Regions from separate parts of the Homo sapiens genome. Here regions 2, 3, 4, 5, 6 and 7 are each linked to region 1. The links are contacts of gene promoters, found by promoter capture Hi-C in human tissues and cell types (Jung and others, 2019). All regions are on one chromosome and are shown on one strand. The core of a region is centred on a gene start or on the middle of the fragment in contact, and the rest is flanking DNA. Distances in the headings are between cores, read along the strand shown. Region 1 holds the start of PAPPA (pappalysin 1). Region 2 has its middle 210 kb from the start of LINC00474. Region 3 has its middle 190 kb from the start of LINC00474. Region 4 overlaps LOC105376234 (a long non-coding RNA gene). Region 5 overlaps LOC105376234 (a long non-coding RNA gene). Region 6 overlaps LOC105376234 (a long non-coding RNA gene). Region 7 has its middle 76 kb from the start of LINC00474.

Evidence for each region. The method cuts DNA at HindIII sites, captures the fragments that hold promoters and counts their contacts. A contact is called where the count stands out against the background at its distance.
Region 2: a fragment that was not itself captured here is called in contact with the fragment with the promoter of PAPPA in region 1 in 1 of the 25 tissues and cell types used here (mesenchymal stem cells).
Region 3: a contact is called between a fragment that was not itself captured here and the fragment with the promoter of PAPPA in region 1, in 1 of the 25 tissues and cell types used here (mesenchymal stem cells).
Region 4: a fragment that was not itself captured here is called in contact with the fragment with the promoter of PAPPA in region 1 in 2 of the 25 tissues and cell types used here (aorta and mesenchymal stem cells).
Region 5: a contact is called between a fragment that was not itself captured here and the fragment with the promoter of PAPPA in region 1, in 1 of the 25 tissues and cell types used here (mesenchymal stem cells).
Region 6: a contact is called between a fragment that was not itself captured here and the fragment with the promoter of PAPPA in region 1, in 1 of the 25 tissues and cell types used here (mesenchymal stem cells).
Region 7: a contact is called between a fragment that was not itself captured here and the fragment with the promoter of PAPPA in region 1, in 1 of the 25 tissues and cell types used here (lymphoblastoid cells).

Annotation. Positions count from the first base shown.
Region 1 is chr9:116,152,131-116,155,381 of GRCh38, forward strand. PAPPA (pappalysin 1) reads left to right here and starts at 1,661. Exons shown (of 22, transcript NM_002581.5): 1 at 1,661-2,457. The coding sequence starts at 2,043. The HindIII fragment of the contact is 11,414 bases long and covers 1-3,251 here.
Region 2 is chr9:115,711,341-115,714,591 of GRCh38, forward strand. No RefSeq gene overlaps it. Among named protein-coding and RNA genes, the nearest start is that of LINC00474, 210 kb to the right of the region's middle. The HindIII fragment of the contact is 3,141 bases long and covers 1-3,042 here.
Region 3 is chr9:115,729,462-115,732,712 of GRCh38, forward strand. No RefSeq gene overlaps it. Among named protein-coding and RNA genes, the nearest start is that of LINC00474, 190 kb to the right of the region's middle. The HindIII fragment of the contact is 4,632 bases long and covers 1-3,251 here.
Region 4 is chr9:115,747,871-115,751,121 of GRCh38, forward strand. All of the region lies in intron 2 of LOC105376234 (a long non-coding RNA gene), which reads left to right. Among named protein-coding and RNA genes, the nearest start is that of LINC00474, 180 kb to the right of the region's middle. The HindIII fragment of the contact is 3,851 bases long and covers 1-3,251 here.
Region 5 is chr9:115,788,448-115,791,698 of GRCh38, forward strand. The region is part of intron 2 of LOC105376234 (a long non-coding RNA gene); the gene reads left to right. Among named protein-coding and RNA genes, the nearest start is that of LINC00474, 140 kb to the right of the region's middle. The HindIII fragment of the contact is 5,609 bases long and covers 1-3,251 here.
Region 6 is chr9:115,808,440-115,811,690 of GRCh38, forward strand. The region is part of intron 2 of LOC105376234 (a long non-coding RNA gene); the gene reads left to right. Among named protein-coding and RNA genes, the nearest start is that of LINC00474, 120 kb to the right of the region's middle. The HindIII fragment of the contact is 6,988 bases long and covers 1-3,251 here.
Region 7 is chr9:115,848,020-115,851,270 of GRCh38, forward strand. No RefSeq gene overlaps it. Among named protein-coding and RNA genes, the nearest start is that of LINC00474, 76 kb to the right of the region's middle. The HindIII fragment of the contact is 8,692 bases long and covers 1-3,251 here.

The sequences.
Region 1 (3,251 bases), core at 411-2,910:
TCAGCAACTTCTTTCTAAACTAGGAAGGTATGAATCTGAGATCTCCCATTTTCAGAAAGCTTCCATAATCTTTGCATATATCGCATTCCAGCTTTCATAGAGGGGATGTCTGAGTCATTTGCTCATCCGACAAATCGTCATACTTTTGCCAACAAACATTCTTCCTTGGTTTTCTCTCTTCCTGAAGCGTGTAGCAATGTTCCTAGCTCTCAAGAAAGATCTGGAGCAGCTCGGAAGATAAGAGCAATTGAAGAAGAAAGTTACAATTTAGTGGAGTTAATTTTATCGCAGACTTTCAGCACGCTATTCACATGCAAACTTCACACAGAATATTTTTATCACTACCTTATTGGAATAGATTGGTAATTAATAGCTTGTAATCCACCATTGCTAACATGTTTTGACTTATTAAACACTTGGACAAAATAAAAGAAGATCTGTTTTGCCATAAGGGGGAGCTTTTGAGTTCTATAAAGAGGGGGAAAAAAGAAGAAAAAAATATATTACATGTATGTCCCAGTTCAAAAACAGACCTACAAAGCAGCAAATGGTCAGATCCTTACCTGTGACTTTAACAATTTCAGAGGACCTGAATTGCTTAAGTTGAAAACATTAGGCAAATTAATATTTTTCTCTCATTTTCTTCTTATAAAATTAAAATAATTTCTAATGACCAACAGAGTATTTTAAAGAGTATTCGGGGAAATTCAGAGACCCAGTTGTACTAGGACTACAGCTTCTGAAAGGCAGATGTCCTGGACAGTGCCTTTCTTCTATTTTCTTCTGATGATTCCATAAGAACTTTGGAAACATTTGGGTTAGCTGAAGCCAGCCTTATCTGGGGGCTCAGAAAAGAGGGGAATGGTTCATCATCGTACAACTTTAAGGAAATTCTGAGAGGGAAAAGGACAGGGAAAAGAAGAGGGAAAGAGGTAAAGGGAGAGGAAGCGGGAAGAAGAGTAAGGGAGAGAGTGAGAAAAAGAGAAAGAGAGGGAGAGGGAGGGAGGGAGAGACAGAGAGAGAGAATTAAAAAAAAAAATCTAAGAATCAAGTTTCAAGACTCTTTATGTGCTACAGAAAAGGATGAGGTTTACCAGCAAAGTGCAAAGGGGATCCTAAGAGAAGAGACAGATTTTTCTCCTGCCATCAGAAATAATAATAATAAGTGGGGGGAGTGAGGGAGGGAAAAAAAGCAAGCAAAACAAAACAAAAACAGGAATGTGTGTTTTGAGCAGGAATGAGAGCTGGGAGGACCGTAAGGGGGTGTGTACAGAATTTCATTAAATTGTTACTTTAAGATTGTCTCCTTAAAAAAAAAAAAAAAAAAAGAGAGAGAGAGAGAGAGAGAAAAGGAGGGGGTGGTGGAGAAGCGGGAGCGAAGGAAAGGAGGCAAAAGGCAAAGTGAAGGAAAGCTGGATAGCTCGGCCTCTCCAAACTGATTGATTAGTCATGATCCCCGCAGTTTTAACAGGGACTCATTCAATTGGGAAGGTGGAGCGCTGGGGAGCAGATTAGCATACGCTTGTTTACTCATCTTCTGAGGGATTTTTTCCCCCTCTTTCCTTTCATTTTGAGAAGAAGGAGGGAGGGGAGGGGGGACTTGGGGGGGGAGAAGGGGGCTGTGGCTTGTGTTATAAAGGACGCAAAAAATAAATAAATTAGAGCATCTTTTGGGGGGAGGGAATTCAGCGGATCAGTCTTAAGAGGAGCTTTTTTTTGGAGCGAGAAATCATATAAAATAAAATGAAATAAAACAAGGAGGAAGGCAACCAGCTGTTAGGGGAAAAATAAGGCAGATAAAGGAGCGGGGAGAGAAATTAATTGCCAACCAGGAGGAGTTGGGCTGTATTTTTCAAAGGTGGGGAGAGTGGAGCACACACCTTGAGGAGGAAAGCGAGAAAGAAAAGAAAAAAGCAAGTGGAAAGGGGGGCTCGCCCAAGAAGGGTGAAGAAGCGAAGAAAGTCGAGGCGCCGAGGCTCCCAAAGCTGGCAGCTCCGGGTGGCGGTGCAGGGGCGAAGGGGGGGCGGGGGGAACCGTCGGACATGCGGCTCTGGAGTTGGGTGCTGCACCTGGGGCTGCTGAGCGCCGCGCTGGGCTGCGGGCTGGCCGAGCGTCCCCGCCGGGCCCGGAGAGACCCGCGGGCCGGCCGACCCCCGCGCCCCGCCGCCGGCCCGGCCACCTGCGCCACCCGGGCGGCCCGCGGCCGCCGCGCCTCGCCGCCGCCGCCGCCGCCGCCGGGCGGTGCCTGGGAAGCCGTGCGCGTCCCCCGGCGGCGGCAGCAGCGGGAGGCGAGGGGCGCCACCGAGGAGCCGAGCCCGCCGAGCCGGGCGCTCTATTTCAGCGGGCGAGGCGAGCAGCTGCGCCTCCGGGCCGACCTCGAGCTGCCCCGGGACGCGTTCACGCTGCAAGTGTGGCTGCGAGCGGAGGGGGGCCAGAGGTCTCCGGCAGTGATCACAGGTAGGTGAGGGCGCCTCGGCGGGCGCTGCACCGTCCCTGCGGCCCCAGAGGCTCGCGGGTGTCTGGGCGCGGGTGGCGGGCGGGTCGGGGGCTTGCGGGCGTGTCTGTGCGAGAGCTGCCCCGCGAGCGGCGCAGAGACATCCGGGCGAGCTGAGAGCCTCACTTTGCTCCATCGGTGGAATGGGCACACTCGGAAGGCGTAGCTGCTCCATCCCTGGGAGGAACCTGGGGAGCCCTCCTGGCGGCCCCGCGGACCCTCGGCCAGTGAGGGCTGGTTCCCGGAGCCTAGGGCACGTAACCCGTGCTCCGAATGGTCAGATGCACTCTCTCCTTTTGGGATGAAAGGGAGGATGACCCAATTGAGATGCATGTGAAAGGAGACTTGGGGACCGTTGATTTCTTTGACGTTTTAATGGAGGTAACTCCCCTTCATTAGGCCCCATTCCCCTGAAAGCCGGCAAGGGCAAGGTTGTTGTAATGGCCAGGACTTAGAAGTCCTCGAAGTGCCCCAAAGTTGCTCACTGATTGAAGCCTGCCTCTGGGACTCACCCTCACCCCCTCCACGCCATCCCATGTCCTAGCTTTTAAAGCCCATTGCCTGTCACTCGGGGCTGGGACGAGACCTTCCTAACGCATACCCCGCCAGCGTTCCCCAGACGCGGCTGCGAAACGGGGCGCTTTTCTCATATGGGACTTTATGAGCCCGTAATGAATTTGAGTTCTCCCTCCTCAACCTCCCTCTCTCTCCCCTTCGCTGTTCCACAGCAAAGCCTATAGTGAAATCGGACACTTTG
Region 2 (3,251 bases), core at 222-2,721, 440 kb before region 1:
ATCTGCCCACCTCGGCCTCCCAAAGTGCTGGGATTACAGGTGTGAGCCACCACTTCTACCCAACATTTCTTGACTTTGGTGGTGGTTACATGATTGTAGACATTTGCCAAAACTCAAAAAACTGTATACTTACAGTTGGTGAATTTTTTGGCATAAAAATCCATCAGTCGAGCTAGTTTTTAAAAGATATCAGAATAATCACACTAAAAAATAACAATAAAAAACTTTATGGGGTCTCTACATATCCAGTTATAATTGACTTGAGATACTCTCACACCTGTATTATCTCTTCAAATTCTAACTCTCTCCACTTCGGACTCAGAATCAACATGCTGTGGAACAATACCCTTAAAGATTTTTAGCTCTGTGGACTACCTGAGAAAGATTTAAATGTAACAACTTAAAAATGTCTGATGTCTTAATAATGGGTGATAAAACCACACCTTAGATTTGACCTTGATCCCATCCTCACGTTTCACTGGAAGTATCCAGGTTATTACATTTGCCCCGAGGTCATATCTTACTTTCTAGTCATATGCCAGCGGGAGTAGATGAGAATTAGATACAGTTCTATTTTCGAGTCCTGTAAATCCTAGGTTGGAAGTATTTTCTCTAAATTCTGATTGGGAAATGAACATCTCTTTCTTAACTGAGTCTCCATTCTCATAATAGGCAGACAAAAGACCCAATTAATACTGTCAATATTCTTCCTGAAAATCTCGGCAAGATTCACAAGCTCATTGGGTCGATTTTTTCTTAAAATTTCAATTTTACTCTAAGTAATAATGTTTCTACTCATAACACCCATCACCCTTCCTGCAGCCCCCAAAGCAATTTCCACACTTCTGCACCATCCTCCACTAAGAGTTTCATCACCCTCTGGCCTCCGCTTGCAGCCTGGTCCCAAAGCCAATGCCACGTATTTTATATTTTTGTCACGTTCACACTAATTTCTTTTCTTTTTTTTTTTTCCCCAGTTATTTAGCCCTATCTAGCATTTCTCTTAACACTTAAGGACTTAAAAACAACTTTTTAAAAAAACACTTTTCTTATAATTTTGGGATCATCTTGTGGTTCTTCTGCTGCATATGGTGTTGACTGGAGTCAATAAATAAGGGTGCTTCCTTCAGTCAGGAGCTTGGCTGAGGCTATAACATTCCGGGGAAACACTTAAGTATCTGGGGCCCCAGCGCTGGCTGTCTGCTACAGAACCTCAGTTCTCATCTTCTGATCTCTCTTTCCTTCTCTCTCTTCTCTCTCCTCTCTCTCTCTCTCTCTCTCTCCTCATACCTACTTTTCTCTTATCATTCAGCAGTCCAGTAGTCGGCTCAGGCTCATTTACATAGCAAATGAGCAAAAGAGCAAGAAAGGCAGCAATTAAACGTCTTAAGGGACAAGCCCAGACTCTTTCAGCATCACGTCTGCTACATTTTATTGGCCAAAGAAGCTTACAAGTTTTAGCTTGTAAATTCAGGGATAGGGGAATTAGACTCCACTTTCTGATGCAAAGTGTTTTAAAGTTTCTGCGGGGCTAAGTCTCAGAACCCCAGCACTGGAAAGTGTTCGTCTTGCAGGTTAGTAAGAATTATATGACGACAACAGTATAGGTTTGAAAAAGGAAAGTTTTATTAGAAAGAACACTGCAGAAGAGTGCAGCGGGATGCCTCAGCAAGAGAGGACTCAGTGTGTGGTGGTGGATTTTTCCTGAGGGGTATATATGGACCTTAAAGTGGGAGCTTGGGATAATTTAGACCATATTAGCCACATAGGTCATGATAAATGATTACATTTGTAGACATTTTGGTGCCTTGATGTCAGCAAGGGTTGCACAGTTAGTTTCAACATGCGTGCATTCCAGAGATGTATAGAAATTCCAGTTAATTACACATTTTTGGGAAAGAAATCTGGAACCAGATGCCTGCTTTAGATAATAGGGAAGTCTAATTATTTCTAAATTCCTCAGATAAGGAATTTGCCTCTGGATGGTCTGCTTGATGGTCACCAGGTGATCTTTGCTCTCCTCAGTTTCAGAGGATAGAGGAGTTCCTGGTGCCCATCTTTGGCGACAATCAATTATGCTATGTTATTCTTGAATTTTTCAGATATCATAGGCCAAAACTATTCATTCCCAAACCATTATTTTATTTTGGTACTTTTAGTTAGGCTTCCATAACTAGAGACTAGAAGGGTTCTGATTAACACAAATATAGGAAGTGAATGTATGTGACAATTAGCTAAGAGTGGAAAGTAAGGTAAGAAAAAAAATTCTGAATAAGGGCCAACGCCAAATGAGAGATAATTATCTGGAACTACAAGTCTCCAAGCATGGTGTACTCTCTACAGGACCACAGTTTAAATCCCAAAGAAGTGTCTGAAAGTACTCCATCTGGTTTTCCCAAAGCATTTTTTTAGGTCCTTGTTTCTACAGAATGCTTTTAAGTGATTCCATGAAAAAATGAATTTCATTACTTAAGGGCCAATCTGAACTTTTGATAGCTAATATGCACTATGAATCATAAAGCGTGATGTGTGTTACAACATCAACTGAATTCATTTTAACACAGATTCCTTACTTCAGCATCTTGAGAAATGATGTTCCACTGGATATACTCTGGGGAGTTCTGGTATGGTTTGAGCTACTTATTTTAGAAATTAGGAATCTGAAGCACAGAGTTTGAGTCACTTGCTTGTGGGAAGTAGGAGCAGAACTTGGGGCCTCTCACTAGGTTTCCAGTCTGAATCTTTTTTCTCCTAGTGGCTGAGGTAGGTATGAACACATATACCACAGGAGCATGATTTTTACTGCTACGGTTTCTTTTTTTTTTTTTTTTTTGAGACGGAGTCTTGCTCTTTCACCCAGGCTGGAGTGCAGTGGTGCGATCTCGGTTCACTGCAAGCTCCGCCTCCCAGGTTCACGCCATTCTCCTGCCTCAGCCTCCCGAGTAGCTGGGAATACAGGCGCCTGCCACCACGCCTGGCTAATTTTTTTTTGTATTTTTAGTAGAGACGGGGTTTCACTGTGTTAGCCAGGATGGTCTTGATCTCCTAACCTCATGATCTGCCTACTTTAAGTTTCTTAAGCCCTCTCCTTATTTACCCTTTCCACACCCAATCCATGATGTAGGAGTCTTCAACTCTGGAATGACACAAAAGTAGGCTCATGTGGGGTTGACATACATCAGTTATTGATGAGTGTCCTGTCGGAACCTGAGTAACAGGTTTCCTTGTTTGGAAACTTCATCATGCGATCA
Region 3 (3,251 bases), core at 435-2,934, 420 kb before region 1:
TGACCCAGCAATACCATTACTGGATATATACCCAAAGGAATATAAATCATTCCACTACAAAGACACATGCACACGTATGTTTATTGCAGCACTATTTATAATAGTAAAAACATGGAACTAACCCAAATGCCCATGAATGATAGACTGAATAAAGAAAATGTGGTACATATACACCATGGAATACTATGCAGCCATAAAAAGGAATGAGATCATGTTCTTTGCAGGGGCATGAATGAAGCTGGAAGACATTATCCTCGGCAAACTAACACAGGAACAGAAAACCAAACACCACAATTTCTCACTCATAAGAGGGAGCTGAATGATGAGAACACATGGACACAGAGAGGAGAACAAACACACCAGGGTCTGCTATGGGGTAGGGGCTGAGGGGAGGGAACTTAGAGGATGGGTCAATAGGTGCAGCAAACCATCATGGCACACGTATACCCATGTAACAAACCTGCACGTTCTGCACATGTATGGTGTTTTGTTGTCTTTCTTTTTTTAGAAGAAATAAAGAAAAACAACAACAACAACAAAGAAACATAATGAATTCAAATCTTACCTCTGCTGTTTTCAAGCTGTGGGACCTGAAGCAATTGCTTCAGCCCTCTGTGTCTTGGTTTCAAGATTTATTTAAAAATCATAGAATGGTAATTAGGACACAGGGGTTGTGGTTCAGAGATTGTATGATGACATGTTAAGAGCACAGGCCCTGAAGACAGGCAATGAAGGAGTTCACATATTGGCTAGTCTAATTCATATCTGTGAATTTGAGCAGGTTACTTAATCTCTTTGGAATAAACAAGGATAAAAATTATATTTACCTTGTGGGTCACCGTGAAGACTAAATGAAATAATATATCTCACATCCTTGACTAAGCACTGGGCTCCTGGGAAGAGCTCAATGAAGGCTAGTTATATGAAGCACTGGGTAAATGCTTAATAAATAAATGGCAAATAATGTAAGTGGGGGAAAAAAGGAATTTGGGCAAATTGTAGTCACACAATGTAATGTGACTGAAACAGCACACGTCTCCTCCCAAGAATGCTCTCTGAACCCAGTGAATTTCCACTGCTGGGGGAGAAGAAGGGATGGCAGGCTAGATTAGGATAATTGTTTTTCTTGGAAACTAAAGAATCAAAGTTTGCCTCGGGCACCTCTATTACCGCAACTTCAGTCCAATCCCCAAATCCCACTGATACAATGAATGAAACTTAAAAGCTGCAAAGAAGAGAAGGAAGAATTGAGGAGAGAAGCCAAAAGCCTTTAGGCTTCAGTTTGATCCTCCCCTGCCATCTCCCCGCCCTGTCTTTACCCCAAGCTTCTGCAAGCTTCCTCTTTCTTTGGGGGAAAATAGTCTTTCTCCCTTCAGTTTGCTGTAGCAACATTTTCTTTTTTCTTTTCTTTTCATTTTTCTTTTAAGTGCAGGGGAAACATAAGCATGCTAAGTACTAAGAGGGAGACTCCAGAGGAACAAGAGGGCAGGGCCCTTGGTCTTGGATTACAAATGAAAAGGATGCAGGTCTCTCTCAAGTCCCTTACCACATCAGTGCAACTGCCTGTTTCCCTGTATGTGGTTTCACCAGGCAGAGAGGAATCATAGGCTCAATATTAAGATCATAAAGCAGTCAGCTTTGGAAGTAAGCCAAGTCCTACCAATAACTTTAGATTTAATCTGTTAGAACCTCAGTTTCAACATCAGTAAAATAGGATAAGATGCATAAAATACATGCCCAAGAAATCATTCCTTCTCCACGTCCTTCCCCTTTTCATCTTCACTTTCTTTTACCTCTCCTTTACATTTCCTGCATCTTTCTTCTTGTTATTTTTCTTGTCATTTTAAATTATCATTCTTTTATTCCTCTTTCATTCTCTATCTCTGTTGCTCAAAGTCAGGAGCCATGTTTCTTTACTGCTCTCTGCTTCCCCTAAGACCTTGTATGTAGGGGCTCAATGTATATTTATATGATAAGGAAAAAAGAACTCTTAACAATCCTTTATTTGTATATTAAAAAGCACCATCATATCTTGTATTCTTACTAATGGGTACTAACTAGTATAATGCAAATACTTCTCAGTAAATAATTAAAGAAGCATTAAAAATCCTAGAACGTTAGTACCAGAAAACCCACTGAGTGCCTTTAGCTCTGAATTTACAGAAAACACAATGAAGGCTAAGAGAGGAATAGGGATTGATCCACAGTTGTCTTGGAGGCAGGGACAGAGTGACCTATCTTGCTCCTCATCCATATCTCTATTTCTACAGCACTGCACCACCCTCTATGCAGGCAGGTCACTTGACTAATCCATTCATTCAATGAAAAATGTGTAATAGCATTTACAATGCGTCAGGTATGTATGGTGCTAGACATCACACATGACTAGTTTGTTGGTTTTAAATTTTGATGTTGTTTGGTTTCCTTTACTTTTTCTGTTATTTGCTTGCTTGGCTGTTATTGTTGAATAAGAAAAGAGAGTAAATAGGTTTTATAAAATGTAGCTAACTGTAACATATGCTTTTTTGTCACTTTTTTCTTATTTTGTTTTATTTGTAAAAATACACCAGATTTATATCCTCACAGAACAAACTTACAGCCTAACAGGGGAGACTGAATTAAAACACACACACACACCACTCTACTTGGTATGTTGATGGGTGGCCCCATCAACATACATAAATAGATATTCAGTTTTAAATTATAATATGTAATTTGAAGGAAAACTGTAGTATGCTATGAGGGAGGGGAAAAAAGTGAACACTATTGAACTGGGGTATTGAGGAATGCATCTTTAAGGAAATTCCTTTCAAGAGGAAGCCTAAGGATTAAAGAATATACTTATGAGTAAATTCTGCTAGTTCTCCATCCCATTTCTTATGTGGTTGGCCCACCTACAATAGCCTCCCTTACCTCCTTACTTCATCAAAGACGTACACATTCTTCAAGGCACAGGACAAGTGCCATTGATTCTGCAAGTCCTTATCTACCCTAGCCCTGCCCTTTCTAAAAAAAAAAAAAAAAAGATTAAAGTTTCCCTATAAGAATAAATTTTAGTCATTTCCATTCGTAGTCAGCAAACACTTTCTTAAAGACAGTTGACTCCATTTATGATGACAAATCCACCAGTCTTCTCTATATTTAGGTGAGATCGTTCTATGTTTACCTGGCTAACATTTTCTGAGATGTATTGGATTGGTATGAGTTAAGGCCTGGTCTGAAAAGTTCCATAAACTACCTACTACCTCGTT
Region 4 (3,251 bases), core at 445-2,944, 400 kb before region 1:
TGAATCCTTCTCTTTAGATTCCTTCCCACTCTGATAGTTCAGAAATCTGAGAACTATGGATTGGCATTAGTATTCATTTGGGCATAGACACTCTGATTATCAAAATTCAAAGAATGCTCCAATCCCCAAGGGTCTACATTTTTATTGGCCTCATGACCAAGACACTGGAACTGAGAGGACCTGAGTAGCACGTTGGAATCAGACTTTCAGGGCAGAGGTGGAAGACAGACAATACACCACAGTCTAGAAGTGACATTGGGGGCCAACAGGTAGAAAGATTCATGGGCCAAAAGGGGCAGTTCCTGGAGTGCTCTTCCTGCCTGCTGGTTTACATCTTGTGGGGTCACTGGGATAGAGGAGACAACAGAGTGATTTATAGTCTAGAAGTTTGGTGAAGGATAGAATAATAATAGTTGATGCTTAACTAACAGGTATTTTCTAAATGCTAGATATTTTATAAGTACTTTATTTTTATTATATTTAATATTAAATTCTGACCATAGAGCTTGAAGTAAGTACCATTTTTATCCGTACATTTCGGAAAAAGGAAAATAGCACTTTAAAGAAATTAAACAAGTTGTCCAAAATCACATAGCCAAGAGGAGCAGAGCTCAGATTCAGTTGACCTTTGATCTCCCAATTCCTATTCCACTCTGCCATACCAGGAAAACTGAGTCTCAGTAACGGGGCCCATGTTTTCTCCACTATGCGGTGTTCCAAGATAGCGGCAATTAATACGACTTTTTACCTCCAGCATTTATACCTTCTAAAAAATTCTTGAATGTAGAAAAACACAGAGTGATAGCAAACTCCAAATGAAGATTCTCAAATTCAATCAGAATAGGGGCATCTTCATGGAAGAAAAAAAGTGGAGAATGAGACCCAAAGACTAAGCATGAGTTATAAAAGTGTCTATGGGAGAACCACAGTGAAAGAAGAGAAGGATGAAATATTCCAGGCACCAAGAAGGTGCTTATACCAAAAGCTATCGGTCTCCCCCTCTCAGTAACTCCAAGATCCCAAACAGCTATACTTGCTAAATGTGTGTAATGTACACTATTGTGTACCCAAAAACCACTATTTGGGTAGTGGTTACAATAAAAATCCAGACTTCACCACTGTGTAGTATATCCTTGTAGCAAAACTGCACTTGTGCCACTTAAATTTATATAAATAAATAGATAAATAAATATATTCTGAATACCATAACACTTATCTGTATCATAGCCTTCTCATCATATTCTAATCACATGTTTATTCGTCTGTGTTTACAGACAGTGAATTCCTTGAAAACATGGTCCTCGTATTTCTTATCTTTCTGTCCCTTGTACCAAGTGTAAAATAAATGTCCAATGCTTATTGAATGTTCAATGCTTGTTGAATCACTAAATAAATTAAGGACTCCTGACTTCACCCCTGACTAGCTATTTGTCTTGGATTTACTATTTAATCTTGTCCAATCAATGTTTCCTTGCCACTGCATAAGTAGCATGTAGCTCTGCTAGGCATTAGAGGAGTGATAAGGCAAAATGCATGGTTTCCAGAGTATCAGCATGTGTTGGGGATGGCAGACAAGTATGCAAGTAAGTGAGTTCCAGTGTGTCCATATGTAAAAATGAAGATGAGAAAACAACTTCTTGCTACCTCACAGGATGATAGGGGTGTGTAATAAAATAATGAGTGAAAAAATGTATTAGAAGTTACAAAGTATCATTTATATCCAAGTTAATAGCTATGATTTTGTGGAAGTTTTGCTCAGTATTACAACTTTTCTGGATTTGGGATCATTGAATAACATATAGAAACCTTGCTGTAGGTGCTTATAGAGGAGGCTTAGGCTGAAATTTGAGTAACTATTAATATATTTTTATGCTATTGCCTTTTGTACTTAAGACCTTATGTTTATGTGGCTTCAAGAATGGTTTACTTATTCTCTAGTTTTATAACTTTAATAATTCAGTACTTGGAAAGATTAGGGATTGAGGCTTCATTCTCTTACAGTATCATAGTATGCAACCTTTCATGTAAAAATAAGGTGGCATAAATCAATATGCATGTATATGTACATTTGTTCAAAAAGAAATACAGGAAGGTAAACCAGACACTAACAAGATGGATTGCCTGCAGAGAGTGGGTAGGAAAGAATAAGGGAATGGAAATTGGTTGGAAGGAATAAAGGATGAGTGGTACCTCCTTGAGTATATGTCTTTGTAAAGCTTTGACTTTTGAAAGAGTGATAGTATATCACATACCAAATAAATAAATACCAACCAATCAAATAGACAGACAAAATCAACGGAGAATTGGGAAGGAGGTAAACTTTAAGCAGAATACAAACATTAACAAATGAACTAACTCTACAAAAAATAGATGAAATCATTTTACTGAAGGGAGTGGGAAAGTTAAGGACTAACCTAAGTAATACTGGAAAACAGGATTTCGACTACAAATTGCAAAGCTAACAACAAAAATAACTGTACATGGAATTTTACTCTAGTTAATAAGTTTGTTTTCCATAACGTTAGTAATCCTGGAATGACTTTAAATGCATTCTAAGATAGCAAATAAATAAACTTGCTATCAAATCATGGATAATGAAAGCCAGTTTTCTCATTTTTGAAGAAAGGAATCATAATTAAAGGTTGAAGGCTAGAATGAACTGTGTAATGTTGGATTTGAATCAGAGGTATTACAATAAATTAATATATGTATGTGTGTATATATTTATATATGTATATATTATATGCATTATATACAATATATGTATATATTAATATATGTATGTGTGTATATATTTATATACACACATTCATATGCACACACACATAAATCACATTTGTGTATATATACGGTTAAATTGATGTAGATGTGTGTGTGTGCATACTTATTTTTTTTTCATTTTTGTCTGCTGAGAGGGCCTAGAAGTAATAATACTGTAGTACAGCAATTATAATGAGCACACCTAAAGTTTCAAAATAGTTTCTAAATACTATTTTTAAAATAAATAAAAAGGAAAAATGAATTCATTTAAGTACTGGATTATTTCAGTGCTAGTACAGGGAAATGCAAGATAAGCCTGGGACTACTTATGGTGCCAAGAAATAAGAGAATACTCCAAAAATGATGGGGCATGTAAAAAGAATGTAGCAGTTAACCTGAAGAAGCTTTCACTGGTAAATTTTATGACACCATAAGCAACAAAATAAGTACTAATAAAACAGCCTGTGTTGTTTTATATTGATATAAATAAA
Region 5 (3,251 bases), core at 404-2,903, 360 kb before region 1:
GTGGAGCAGGGTATAAAATCTGTTATTTCTCCTAATGCAGGGCACTCTGACAAGCTCTCTGCTGGACTGGCTGAACCTTGTCAGGCCTGCATGGCCTTTGACTTCTCCCAGTATCAATCCTGTACCCTCCCTCTTCCTTTCAGAGGTATTGATCCCTAATAAACATCTTGTATGCTGAACTTCATTTCAGCGTCTGAACCTAGAGAACAGAGCCTGCAACATCTGTCCATATCCAATAGACTCATATGTAAATTGCAAAGAATGTGAGCTTGGATATTTTTCTAGCCTTTAGCTACCTGGCTTAGCAGGGACTGGGCCAGAAAACCTCTAAGGATTCATCCAGTGCTAATGCTGCACATGCTTTCGCTTCCTCCATTTATATTCTCATCACTCCCTCTAGGAACCTCCTCTGTCTCTTGTTTTCTTCCCTGCATTTCCAGAGCTTCCTGTATTCCCAGCAGAAAACCCTTATCCCACTACATTGCCATGCAGCTTTAGCATGTCTGTCTTTCCTGTTTGACCCCTTCAGATCAAAGATGCTGTCTTTTACCTTAAAGTCACCTGCAGCACCTACTGCCTGGTTTGAAGTCTTGAAGGTATTCAGTAAATGAGCATTTAGTAAGCACACTCATACAGACACTCTTCAGGGTTACTCTGACTGAGGAATACATAACGAATGGTACTCCATAACCCTCTTTCCAATTGTCCTCTTCTTTAAGTAAACAGTTTCCCATTTCATGAAGATCAATTTGTTTTCCAGTGAATTGCTGCAGGACATAAACATGTCTAAGGACTGGCCAAGTAAATGAAGACATGGCTTTGTATTTTAGTCTACTGTCAAAGTCAGGTGGTACAATACCACAGCACATCATTCTTTTCCAACCAAGCATGTCTTTTTAAAAATGAAATTACAATTGCTTTGTATTAATTTATTTTATTTTCCTTGTAAGAAGAAAGGATGAGAGATGCCAAAAGACAAAGGCCAATGAGATAGCTGTCATGGGACAGGCAAAAGGAGGTAGAAAAGTAGGGAAAGGTAAAGAAAATTATATTTATTAAATGCTTAGTACATGTCAGGCACCATTCCAAGCTTTTTGTATACATTCCATTTAATAATTACATTTTATAGATAAGAAAGTTGAGGTTGAGATTAGCTAATGTTTTTCCCTGAGTCCTATAAGAATGGTCACACAATTGGAAATAGAAACTCGGGTATTATATGTCTAACAAATGGATCTGTCTCAACAAATAAATGGAGTTGGAGAACTTGGAGGTATCCGGCATATCAAGTCATCAAGGGTGGCCAGAGCAGATTGTTCAAAGGGTAAGATAAGAAGAGTGAGACTGAGAGAGAGAGAGAGAGAGCGCGCGCATTACCTGTAATAGTGTAATCAATGCTTATTGAGTAGAAAGTAATGGGCTAAACAGGAGAACATGTATAATTGCAAAGCATATTTCCTGTCCACAAAGAGTTTCTAGTGTATGTTTAGGGAGGCAAGACATGAGTGCATAAAAGGAGAATTAGCTATGCAGGTAAATGGGATAGGAATGTTACATCCTCCATAATAAATTCAGAGCCAAGAGCCTGTCTTAAGTAGGATAGTCAAAAAGGACTGAAAGGAAGATCTCTCTCCACTTCTAATTAATTTGGTGATTAATGTGAGGAATGTTTTGTGTCCTCATCTTTTCTTTGATCTCTTCTTTCAGGGTCTTTTCCTCTAACCAATTCTCCACTCCATAGCTTAGCAGCTAAATGGTTCCTTAGCTGCTTGAAGTAAAGGATGTTGCTTACATGGCTAGGCAATTGTTATATGTCTATCTAATAATCAAATTACCACTAATTTACCATAAGAGAAAAGGAAAATATATCCAGAATGTCCCATTTCAAGGAGTTGTACACATTGCCCTAAAAATTGTTTACAAATTTCAATTTACTTTCATATATTAATTTATTTGTAGATATAGAATTTGCCTATAACCACATCCAGCTGTACACCATGAGTATTTTAAGAGAGTGAATATATTAGACGGTATGGAAGAATCTTAGAAATAATGCTTACTGAAAACACTACTCATTTCAAACAAAGGCTCTTAGCAGGAGAAAGCCTCTTCATTAAAAAACCAGAATTCAAAAAATGCAAGGCTATTTTAAAGTTGGAGGCTGTTCTCAGGAAAAGCCAGAGAAAAGCCCATCCTATCTGTGAAGATTTTGCATATGGGTGTGTAATATAGACATACAGGTTCGATTTTCTTTGCAGAGAAGGAATGTAGCATTGTGACGTTTCTGAAATTCTAAACCCGAACAGGGGTCGGTGGGGAGACATTAGAGTCTGAGCACATATGCCAAAATATGCTTTATGAATGCTAATGCTGAAAGGTTTGCTTTTAAGGACGTACACAGGTTTCCCTCCTGGCCACCCTGTATCCGGTCTTTCTTAAAAGGGGCTCCCTTGGAAAATAAAGTCAGTGATTTTTTTTTTTCCAATGGACCCAAAAAGCAGGAACAGATGTGACACGAATAACCTCTACTTTGTGCATACCTCAGAGGAAAATGACACGGCCTAAAGCAGGGGATCTGGCTCCAGGCCAGAGAGAAGGACAATTGGAGTTTAGGCCCCTAATGACATGGTTCACCTCAGCTCACTCTTTTGTGCTTGTGTAAAAAGTGCAGGTGGAGAAAGTGAGTTGTGTTTACTCATTGCAGGTACAAATGAAGTTTCTGTAGAAGGCTGCCATTTTCCTTAGCTCTCTGTTATCTCTTTTTCCCACATCAGAATAGCCACACTGCTTTATTTGACCATCTTTCAAGGCATGGAAGAAGTGATCAAGCATAATGCTTGAGGCCTGAGTTCTAGAGTCTGACACCCTGAGTTGGAATTTTGGATTGGTTCTGCCACGTAACAAGATAATTTTTAAAAAAATTATTTGCCATCTCTGTGCCTCAGTTTCTTTCTCTGTTATATATACAGGATAATAATATGATCTACCTCACTGAAGTTTTTTTTCTGAGATTCTATAGACAAAACATGAGGAGCACTTAGAACAATGCCCAAAACATAGCAAGTGTTTAATAAATGTTGTTATAATTATTAAGAATCACTTTTTATTTTTAAAATTAAACAATTTAATTTTAGATTCTGAAACTAAACAGAACATGCATATGATTGTTACACAGGTGATATTGCATGTTGATGTGAACTGGGCACCTAACGTACCCATTACCCAAATAGTGAACATGGTACACAATAAGT
Region 6 (3,251 bases), core at 550-3,049, 340 kb before region 1:
ACCTAGAGACAATGAAAGGCAGCCTTAATGGGACAGGATGTGAATACAATGAAAATCAGACCCGTGGATAGGCAAGGAGCTGAAGGTCAAAGGTGGAGGACCCAGCTTAGGAAATATATCGTGAAACCCACTTGTGGTAAGTTTTGCAGCCAAGCATCCTCTACTGGATCAGAGCAGACACTATAACAATGACCATATAGCTATAATTTGCCAACTGTTGTCCAAATCTAGCCCTTGAGATTTTTTTCAGCTGAAATAAAAATAACAGCAGTTTCCCTTCCTTATTTTCCTTTTCTTCTTCCGTTCCATTTCCTGTTCATAGGCATCGGCATGTCCTGCTGCCAAGGAAAATGGATGGAGGTGGGAGTGAGGGCATCAGTATACCTGGCTGCCCAGAGGTGCTGATTCATATGGGCAGTGAGGAGAATATACGCATGTAGTGGTGTGGCCAGGGGCCAAGGAGGCAGAAGCAGGGAAGAAGATGAAGCCAGTGTGGTTGGGAGATTGCTTACATTAAGCAAATAAGTCAGATGATTGAGCAAATGAGTAAATATTTTAAGAATAATGAGAGCCGGTTTTCTTACTACTAGTAAAATAATTTACAAATATAAAAAGGAAGACATCTAGAAGAACACGAAGGTATTTCATTTGCAATTAGAGATTTTTACAGTTTTTTATTGCTATATGATAAACCATCTCAAAATTTAGTCGTGCAAAACAACTTTTTCTGTTTGCATATCCTGTGGGTCAGGGATCCGGGGGAGCACAGGGGGCACAGACAGCCTGCTCCATGACATCTGGGGCCTCAGCTGGAAAGACTTCCATGATTCGGCAGACCCAACTGCAGGGGACTGGAATCATCCAGAGTCCTTAGGGCAGTTGAATTTTTTTGATGCTAGCTCCATATACTTGTGCATTCTAGTGAACAAAGTGAAAGCTGCATGCCTTTGCTAACTGAGTCTCAGTAAACATGTGGCATCATTTCTCCCATCTCTATTGGTTATACATGAGTCACAAGTTTGTCTAGGTTCAAGGAAAAATGACATCAAGTCACCCATCAATGAGAAGAGTGAAAACAAATTTGTGGGCAGCCAAAGGGATTGTCATGAATTTTATGTTTATTAGGTACATTTGTATATACATAAATATAAGAATTTTGTGTATGTATACATGGATATACACATGCACACACATATATATGTGTACACACAATTTTGTATATGTATATATGGATATACACATGCACACACACATATATATGTGCGTACACACACACACACATACACATAATTTTTCTACCTCTGTCCATTGGGAAGTCCTTAAGCCATGACAGAGAAGTGGCAATGAGCACGCTGAATAGTCAAACAAACTTAGCTTCTAAATACCTTCTTCTACTAAAAGGAATGACAGGCCCTTGGATTAATGGCTGAATCCAGGACTGAAATTGTATGAGAGGTGCACAGAATATCTTGTTTTGCTAGAAAATAAAGAAATGCTCAAAGAATACTGAAACATGTCAAAAGAATTTCAGAGCCAGTTCAAAAGGTTCCTAATCACCACAGATGGGAAGATTTGAGCATCAAATCAGAAAGTGGTAGTAACATATATTGACCCATTAAATTAATTAAAATCCATGAGTCCATAGTAAAATAAATAAATAAGCCATTAATCATATCAATGAATGGGGTAAAAGAGAAATTTCTTCCCTGTATTGAGATGACAACTAAAAAATATAGAAGGAAATATAGAATGGAAATAGAAAAAAACGCCACTTGGCAAGCATCATAGTTGTGGTTGATTTAGGCAGAAGTCATGATGGCTGTTAGGAAAGTGGGTGGAGTTCTGACAAAAGTAAGACACTAAGGTAATATCTGAGTATCCACCCACCCCTGCAAACTACTCATCAGTTATAAAGAAGAAATGATTACTGTATTGTGGAGAAATCTGATCAAGAACAATATGACCAGGTGATAAAGTCTGACATGACCACAAGAAGGATGAGTCAACAGCATGCATTTCCTGATGGAACTCGTTGAAAAAAGCACAGTGTCACTTCTGTGGTACCCCTCTCAGAACATATAGGACTCTGTAGAACTATAAAGACTATATACTATATGATCCAATTATATGACATTCTGGAAAATTCAAAACTATGGGGATAGTAAAAAAATGAGGGGTTGTCAGAGGCTGGGGGAAGAGAGGGATAAATAGGCAGAGCACAGAGAATTGTTAGGGCAATAAAGCTATTCTGTATGATACTATAATGGTGAATACATATTATTACTTATTAGTCCAAACCCATAGAATGTTCAATACCAAGAGTAAACCTAATGTAAACTATAAATTTTGAGAGATCATGATGTGTCAATGTAAGCTCATCAGTTACAATAACTACCACTGATGCCAGTTACTGATAGTGGGGAATACTGTGCATGATGAGGGGGCAGGAGGAATATGGAAACTCTGTACTCTCCACTCAATTTTGTCATGAACCTAAAACTGCTTTAAAAAATACAATTTATTTAAGACTTTTTTTTAAAAAAAAAAAGAAGGCAAGGACTGTGTCAGGCCAACTTTAGAAATACTCTGGTTGAGGTTTGGTCTACAAAATGAATGGATTATACTCTTAAAAACTATCAAGAACATGAAGGCCAAAGAATGGCTAAGGTGCTGTTTCAGGCTGAAGGAGATTGATAAAATCGAACAGCTAAAAGCAACACGCATTCCTGAATAATATGCTTGGCCAGAACCGCCAGTGGGACACTGTTAGGATGGCTGGTGAAATTTGAATGGGGCATGTGGATTGGATGCTTGTACTGTATCAAGGTTGATTTTCTGATTTGGAGGCTTATACAGTGGTGATGGAAGAGAATGCCCTTGCCTGGGGTAAATACACAGTGGGGAATTGAGGAGTCATGGAGGCATATCTGCTGTTGATCTCAATGGTTTGGAAAAAGATTAATGACAATTGGGAGGTGGCAGAGAAGAGCAGAGAAGAGAGTAAATGTGGGGAATCCATATGTTATGGGTTGAATTATTGTCCCTAAATTAATATGTTGATGAACCTAACTTCCAGTAACTCAGAATGTAACTCGGAGAGGTTCTTTAGAGTGGTAATCGAGTTAATGTGAGGCCATTGGAGGGGACCCTGATGGAATATGGCTGGTGTCCTCAAGAGAAGGGGAAATTTAGTCCTTTCCTCTTTCAAATTTGTAGATTATTTGGGCCAGGAAGACAAAATAAGATGAAAC
Region 7 (3,251 bases), core at 516-3,015, 300 kb before region 1:
GACCAGCTTGTCCAACATGGTGAAGCCCTGTGTCTACTAAAAATACAACAAAATTACCTGGGTGTGGTGTAGCATGCCTTTAATCCAGCTACTCAAGAGGCTGAGGCACGAGAATTGCTTGAACCCAGGAGGCGGAGATTGCAGTAAGCCAAGATCGATCGCGTCACTGCACTCCAGCCTGGGCAGCAGAGTGAGAATGTGTCTTAAAAAAAAAAAAAAAAAAAAAGGTATGTTCAGGAGCGTTCTTATCTTCAATGCCTATAACAATAATTTAAAAAATGGAAATATGTGTTCATCAACACTAAGCTGTGTTATAGTCATGAAATATTTTATAACAATGAAAAGGAGTATGCAAAAACATTGATGAATCTCAAAATGTTGAAGAAATACACCAGGCACCAGAAAAAGATTCACACTATATGATGCTATTTATGAACAATTCAAAAATAAATAAAGCTAATTTATAGTGAGATAAGTGGTTTGGGATTCTATAGCTCTGGATTGGAATCTTGAATTTGCAAATAAGTGGTTGTAGGGTTTGGATAAGTTGAATTACCTCTCAAAGTCTGTTTCCCCACGCAGCTCGTAAAGCAATTAATATAGTGCCTTTCATATGCAAGGTATGTGGAAAATAATGATTCTCATTATTAGTGTTCCAAACTCTTAGGTCTGCTGTTCCTCTGAAGTATGTTATTCTAGATTTGGAAAGGAATTTCTGTTTGTGGCTTTAGGTCTCTACCATGCCCCCTATCACATACATCTTTGTTCTTCTTTGTTTCTTCAATCCCTCTTTCTATCCTTATGTCTTCCATTTTTGCTTTTTTAATGCCTTCTTCTCTATCTTTCCATCCTGTCTTGCTTTTGATTTTTCTGTGGCTCTCCAAGGACTTCACATCAATACTTGATCCTAAAACTCTTTCAATACTAAAAGCAGTTGCTGACATTTTCTCCTACTTCACTCTTTTCATCTCTCTCTCTCCTGTTTTCCATGTGTATGGTCACAGACACTGCCAGCCACATTAGTGTGTAATCATTAAAATTCCATGTGAATTCATTCCTGGGTTCAAGGCACAGCTGTGCCGTGGCACAAATGTTTCATGTCATGTAATAAAAAGTAATGGCATCAAGAAATCCAGAGGCTCCTCTGACATGTTCTACTTCCATGGAGTACAACTGTAAATCCTTCACTTCTCATTTAGTCAACAGCCTCACTCTCCCCCTACCCATGACAGTCTAAGTCCCGTAAATGTTTTCTTTCTACTGCTCATAGACACTTGTCCTCTATTTTTCCTCTTGCTATACTTTACTACATTTTCCATTCAGCAATGCATTTTTAAAGTATAAATTATGTCCTATAACTCCTTTGTTTAAATCTATCTAACAATATCCCAGTGTACCTAAAGTACATTCAAAGTAAGAACCGTAACCTCCCAAGCCTTTCATGATCCCTCCTCTCAGCACCTACCTATTATCGTTCTCTCTGTTTATTACAATGGTCCTACTTTTGTTTCTCACATATACTACACTTATATTCAACTCAGGATTTTTGCACATACAAAGGCTCTAGTAGGATATTCTTTTCCCAGAATATTTGATGGATAGCTCCTTTTCATCATTCAAGTTTATATATTACATATAGGGAGAGGGTTTTCCCAAGGCCAGTCTAGCTAAAGTAACCTTTACCCCACCCTAAGTTACTGTGGCATCACTCTATTTAATTTTCTTTATAACAACTCTCATTAACCTCATTTATCTGTCTTACTATTTTGTTGTTGTTTACATGCTTGTTGGTGTGGATGTTGTGGGGGCTTAATATAGTTATAGGTGAGGTTGGTTATATTTGTATTACAGGATGTGGTAGAGTAGCTATTCAATAATGTTGTTTCCTGTGGTTTGGGTTTCGTTATGCCTCCTCATGGTCAAATCCAATAACTCCATGATCCTGGCAGAAGAACTGGTGTGTTTAATGAAAGAAATGTGGGCTCAGATGTCTTTCTCTCTTCATCTCTGATTCCAACATAATCACACTCGCTGGCTTCCAGCCACTGGGGCAAGCCATTTTCCAGGCTTGACTTGAGAGTGAGAACTATACAAATTTCTCGACTTTTCTTACAGGCTTTTGCATGATCTTAGCTAACAGTTTTCTGAAAAGGAAGAATATTTTTGGCATGTTTGTAGACTATTAGCCAAAGCATCAACAGCTGAGTTCCAGCTGACTAATTTCTCCCCTGCTTGGTGCATCTAAGACAGAGTAAAAATACTTTTTGTATTTGTTTTGTTTTGTTTGTTTGTGTTCCAATCCCAAAGAACCCAAATACTCCCCAAAACAGCATGGAGAGATGACAATTGCTGCTAGTGTATTGTAGAAAATGTATAGAAGAAACACTGAATACTTAATAAATGTGTGTACCCCCCAAAAATTTGAACTTCCTTTATAAAAAGTTTCAATCCTATGTTTATTGATTATTTATTTTGTAAACAAACTCTTAGGCAGAGACTACACATAATAATCCCTTCAAACCCTCTTCCCTTCTTTAAAAGCAGGAATAGGTTTAGAAAACACACACACACACACACACACACACACACACACAAACACACACACAGAGACAAACACATACACGCACACAACAGATGGGCACTGGGATGTAGCTAAAACATTTTAGAATTTGATCTGAACTCAAGTCTTGGTTCAACACATAGTAGCTGTTTGATATTGACCACACATTTAACCTTCTTGAGCTACAGCTTCCTGTCTAGTACAAGACATGTAATAACTGCTTTACTTTTTTTCTTGTTGTTGAATGCAAAATGAATTTGTTAAATCCTTAGGAATTCAATAAATGTCAGTTTTCTTCATCAACCAAATCACCTTAACAATGATCTTTGCTAAGAGAGCAGTCAAGTGAAAGAGTTAGGTCTTTCTGATGCCCCTTAAGGAACACAATTGCTCTACTAAAATGATTGCAGCTCTTCTTCTGTTACTCTGGAGAGTATTAACCTCAGCTGAGTGCAGCTTGTGGGGTAAATACACACCCACCAAGGAGTAGGATGAGTTTATAAACAATTATGCAAATATGGCTTCATGCTTTTCTCCAGACATAACCACAAGATGAGTACAGATTAATCACTGTGGACACTGTTGGCAAACAGAGCATTTCATTCTGTTCTTCCTGAGAAATAGGAATTAGTGTCTAAGATTGAGACTCATTTCAGCTAAACAAGCAGGGTGGAAATGAGAGGTGGCTGAA